Linked DNA regions of Homo sapiens: region 1 is linked to region 2. Evidence: promoter capture Hi-C in human tissues and cell types (Jung and others, 2019). All regions are on one chromosome and are shown on one strand. The core of a region is centred on a gene start or on the middle of the fragment in contact, and the rest is flanking DNA. Distances in the headings are between cores, read along the strand shown.

Region 1 (2,700 bases), core at 190-2,689, 330 kb before region 2:
TTTTTTTGTTTTTGTTTTTGTTTTTTTTTGAGATGGAGTCTTGCTCTGTTGCCCAGGCTGGAGTGCAGTGCTCACTGCCACCTCTGCCTCCCGGGTTCAAGCTGTTCTGCCTCAGCCTCCCGAGTAGCTGGGACTACAGGCGCATGCCACCACACCCGGCTAATTTTTTGCATTTTTAGTAGAGACGGGGTTTCACCAGGAAAGTATTCTTAACTGAGTTAACAGAAAAATTAAGCTGCAGGCAAATTTGTTTTTACTAATTTATTTCCCAGCTCTTCAGATGACTGTTCTCTATTAAGTAGTGCAATAGTAGTACCTAAAATTCGTGTAATCACATTAAGTGTTTAATTCCAGATGTTGTTGAGATCATTCCTACTCAAAGTGTGGACCAAGGACAGCAGCATTCACATCACCTTGGATCTTGTTAGAAATGCGGAATCTTAGGCCCACCCTAAATCTACTGAGTCAAAATCTACATTTTAACAGGGTCCCTAGGTGATTCATGTGCACACTAATGTTTGAGAAGCACACATTTATAAATTATAGCTTTCCATTTGATTCATGTTTCTTATGAATTATGGAAGTGAGTGTATATGTGAGCCTGCATTAGTGAGGTAGCTTATGGAATGCATGTCAACCACACTTAACAGATCATTAGTTTTAAAAAAACACATGCTAGGCTGGGCATGGTGGCTCATGCCTGTAATCCCAGCACTTTGGGAGGCCGAGGCAGGTAGATCACCTGAAGTCAGGAGTTCCAACATGGCAAAACCCTGTCTCTACTAAAAATACAAAAATTAGCTGGGTTTGGTGGTGTGCACCTGTAATCCCAGCTACTTGGGAGGCTCAGGTAGGAGAATCGCGTGAACCTGGGAGGCGGAGGTTGCAGTGAGCTGAGATTGCGCTACTGAACTCCAGCCTAAGCAACAGAGTAAGACTCCATCTCAAAAAAAAAAAAAAACCAGCCAAACAAAAAAACACATGGTAAATGATCCTGTTTGATTTTTGTACACTTTTGATTAATCTATATATTCTGTTTCTCCAGGTCGGCATTTCCCCAAACGTCCAAAGCATATGCTTGTAGTGGAAGCAAAGTTTGATGGAGAACAGTTGGCTACTGATCCTGTGGACCACACTGACCAGCCAGAATTTGCTACTGAGTTAGCTTGGGAAATTGACAGGAAAGCGCTTCATCAGCACAGGTGATTATCATTTTCATTTTAGCTTCTTTATTGGTTTCTTATTTTTCAGGCTGTTATAAATAAATACAGTTTGAGTATTTAATACTTGGGACCAGAAGTATTTTCGGATTTTTGGAATATCTGCATAATCAAAGATACCTTGGGGATGGGACCCAAGTCTAAACATGAAATTTATTTGTTTTACATTATACGCATAGTCAAAGGTAGTTTTATATAATATTTTAAATAAATTTTCATAAAATGAAGTATGTTAAATGCTTGTGTGTGGAATTTTCCGTTTGTGGCATTATGTCAGCACTCAAAGTTTTAGAATTTGGAGCATTTCAAATTAGGAATGTTCAACCTATAAATTTTGTATCTGTCATTACGTTTAATAATTATAGTTATTGAGTGTTTTTTTAAATGTGACAGGAAATTTTTAAAGTACTTTGCAACAATAACAGTTAAACATCAGAACAACACTATGAAGTTGTTATTTTTATTTCGCCCATATTATAGATGAGGAAACCGAGGCCTGAGATGTTAAGTATTAGTAACTTGTTTTAAGTCTGTTAGCTTAGTAGTGGTAGAGCCCAGGCAATCCAGCTTCAGAGCCTAAGCTTTTACACTACACTTACACTGAGCTGTTTGGGTTTTTTTTTTTTCCTAATGTGTGAGACAGTAGATATTCTAGAAATACCTTGATGATACCTACTCATTATTAAATATGGTTGGAATTCCTTGTAATTTCTGTTAATTTATTTATTGTATATTTACCTGGCTTGCCAAGGATATATAGAGGGGTATCCAGTGAAAAGTTATGAAAGTAATTCTATCAAGGTTTCTTTCTAATTAATTTATATTTAATTTTAAACAAAACCACTTTATTAGTATATAAAATAGACTTAAAGTTATAGTATATATTTTTTGTGAACTCTGACTAGAAGCAGGCAACAACAATAAAAGCAATACTCTTATTTATTTAAGGATTAAAAATATATTTTCTTCTGGAAAACATGTTATCACTTTAATACTTGCTTGTTCTCAGTACTAAATTAAATCAAAATGGAAAGTTAAAAAAAAGGAAAGCAAGGAAAACTCTATTTACCTCTGTTGCTAGAGTAGTCCATGGATTTATTTGAAGAAGTATTGCATTCTTAGAGAATATCAATGTTGGATTTCCTTTCAGTGGTGTCTATAATGGAGTCCTGCTATGAGCTGTTAGGGCTTCCATTTTGTTAGTGCCAGGTTAGTACCACTCTGATTGTTGTAGGCTGAGAAAATACAGATAAATTGAATTTATAAGTGATGATTTTGTGCTAAGTGCAGTTCTATAATAACTCCACTAGATAAAAGCAGTGGCAAAATCCATTCAGCTTAATGCATGAGCCAGTTGAGGGGTTCCGAACTAAAACAGCCCATGCTAAACAAGCCAATATCATTCTTTCAGAACACTGTTATGTGTTATATTATTAATTTAAATTTTAATTTATTTTATATTTAATTCCTGTTTGTTTTT
Region 2 (2,700 bases), core at 19-2,518:
CGCGGGGCGCCGCGACCCTCCCCGCCGCCGCCGCCACCACCACCGCACTTGACGGGCCCGGGGCCGGAGGTGGCGCCGAGGCACAGTTCCTTGGGGGGCAGCGGCTCGGCGGCGACGGCAGCGGCGGCTAGAGGCGCGAACACCGGCAGCTGCGACACCGGCAGGGCCGAGAGACCAGCCAGCGCGGCGGCAGCGGCCGCAGCAGCGCAGGAGGAGGCGGAGGAGGCGGAGGTGGAAGAGGAAGCCGGCGTGGACGAGGCGGAGGAGAGAGAGGCGGGCCGCGGGCGCAGGCTGTCCGGCGGAGGCTCAGCGCGCTCCGGGGGCGGGGGCGGCGGCGGCGGCTGAAGAGGCTGCGGCGCGCTCAGGAGACCCGCGGCGCCGCTGCCCTTGAGCGGGCCTGCGCCTCCGTGAGGGAAGAGTTGCTGCCAGTGCTGCAGGTAGGCTGGGTCCACTTTGAGGAAGGCCGAACCGCCGGGGTCTCCGGGCTTCAGCATGTCCGGCGCCTCGAACTGGGGGCAGAGGGCAGGGAAGAGGGGGCGCGTGAGCTGGGCGAAAGGGGCCGGGAAGAGGGCCACTGGGACCCTGGAGAAAGTGCCCGAGCCGGTGGTTCAGCCGGCGGCCGCCCGGTTCCGCGGCTCCCTCTTCCCAACTCCGCTTGGGCGCAAAGTTTACTCCGAAGCTGCGGCGCCGCACAGAGGGAGCTGTGTGCACCCTGCTCTGCCTCCCCGATCGCAGCGTCCAGCTCCCATCCAGCAATGCTGGGGCCCGACAGGAGGGCGCTGCCCCGTAGAACTCGGCTGCAGGACGCAGCCCCCGCCCTCAGCCAGCGCCCGGAGCCGACCCGAGCCGGCGTGGCGCAGCGCCCGAGCCGCGTTGGCCTCAGGCGCCAGGAGGCAGAACAGTCTCGCCGCCCGCCCCCAACCTAGGACCACCAACCTTCCTATCTACCAAGCCCTAGACTCTTAAGTCCCAGACCAGCCTCACCTTACCTGAAAACTCGGTGCTGCCGGTGGGTGCGTGCGGGTGTCTCGGTGAGCGTGCGGGTGCGCGAGAGTGTGCGCCCTGCGTGCGCTACATGCCCCTGAGCAGCGCGGGAGGAGAGTCCTAGAGATTGTGCCGCCCGGAAACCTCCCGACCTGCAAGCGAGAAAATTGGGAGGCCCGCGGAGGGCGCGAGAGTGCGGACGGACCTGGGCGCCCGACTCAACCGCCGTGGGCTGCTGCGCTTGGCCGCTGCCGCGTCCTGGCTCCTTGGTTCCACGCTCTGGCAGCTTCCCGGCTGGACACGTGGGTTTTACGACAGCACAAAATAGAGTGAGTGTGTGTGTGTGTGTGTGTGTGTGTGTGTGTGTGTGTGTGTGTGTGTGTGTGTGTGTGTGTGTGAGAGAGAGAGAGAGAGAGAGAGAGAGAGAGAGAGAGAGAGAGAGAGAGAACGGAGGGGGGAGGGGAGGCAGGCCAGAAGAAGGGGAGGGGAGAGGGAAGAAGGAAGTTCTAATTCGGCCCGACCCACATCGCCAGAGCGCCTTTCCCGCACAAACTCCTCCGCCCTCCCATCCCCTGTTTTTTTGGCGTGACGTCTGCCGCTAGCCTGTTGTCTCTTTCTGCCCATGATATGTCTTTTCTGGGTCCCAGCTCAGTGCCCTGATCTTGAAAGCAGTGGAAATGCGGCAACGGGAATGCATCTCCGCACACGCTGTGGTGTCCGCGCTGGAGCAAGCCCGCGCCGCCAGGACCGGGTTTGCGCTTTTGCCCGGCTCAGTTTTTCCTGAAGTGCTTCTGGGTGCCAGAGTCCACTCGCCCGCCACGCAACCTCTAACATAAATCCTCCGGGGAGAAAAGTTGGGGGCGGAGCGGGACGGGTTGCGCGCTGCAGTGAAACCCTCTGTCTGCAGCCCAGGAGGGAGGCTTGTCGGTGCAGGGAGGCGTAGGACCGAGGGTCCTGAGACCGAGAGCAGCTGGTCCTGGAGGGACTCAAGCTTGGCCGTGGGGCTGGGAGGCGGCTGCAATGGAGTCTGCACTCCACCCAGCGCTCTGCTGACCCCTTCTCGGGTTGTCTTCTGGAGGGCTCTTTCCCTCTCCTTCTTGGGGCCCGGAGACAAGTATCCAGTGTTACGTCTGGTGGCACAACTGCTCCGGGACACGGGCGAGGCTGTTTGCGGTCAGCTGCCTGCGGCTGCCGCAGGAGGTCACGCATAGGTTTCTCTACCCAAAACCTGGTGTTAGAGGGGCAGGGTGGGAGTGCAGCCCCACCTCCACCATGTCCTCTCCCCAGACTTTGTGCCAGGGCAGCCCTTCGATGCAGTCTCGCACCCACGAAGGAGGCACTTGCCCCCCAGCTCTTCCTGGCATTTTCGGTAGTAGATGGTAGAGGGCACAGGCAGGGTGTGTGAAATTGACCGACTCAGGAGGTACTTTCCCATCGCCGGGGTTCTGGCCATACCGTAAAGAGAAGAAACGGCATTTATCTTTTTCCAAACAACCTAACTTATTTAGCACTTGCCAATCTGAGCAATTAATAGCCATTCTTTCCTGATTTCTGCTTGTTTCTTTTTCTCTTCCCACCACTCAAGTTTTCTGAACCTGGGAAACGTGCTGTTCAGACTTCATCCGGGTCTCATTCAGGATGCTTCGATGTTGGTTGGAAGAGAGTTAGACCGAAAATGTTTTGACTGGCGTCGTTATGACAAGGTCATCCGTCATT

Evidence for each region. Contacts are between HindIII fragments. The study calls those that stand out against the background at their distance.
Region 1: a contact is called between a fragment that was not itself captured here and the fragment with the promoter of PRDM6 in region 2, in 1 of the 25 tissues and cell types used here (H1 embryonic stem cells).

Annotation. Positions count from the first base shown.
Region 1 is chr5:123,416,861-123,419,560 of GRCh38, reverse strand. CEP120 (centrosomal protein 120) reads left to right here. Exons shown (of 20, transcript NM_001375405.1): 2 at 1,046-1,202. Among named protein-coding and RNA genes, the nearest start is that of CEP120, 5.2 kb to the left of the region's middle. The HindIII fragment of the contact is 7,053 bases long and covers 1-2,700 here.
Region 2 is chr5:123,087,809-123,090,508 of GRCh38, reverse strand. It overlaps PRDM6 (PR/SET domain 6), which reads right to left and starts at 1,268. Exons shown (of 8, transcript NM_001136239.4): 1 at 990-1,268; 2 at 1-509. The coding sequence starts at 494. It overlaps PRDM6-AS1 (PRDM6 antisense RNA 1), which reads left to right and starts at 193. Exons shown (of 2, transcript NR_146771.1): 1 at 193-437; 2 at 2,570-2,700. RefSeq lists enhancers at 1,529-2,073, 2,074-2,618. The HindIII fragment of the contact is 7,641 bases long and covers 1-2,700 here.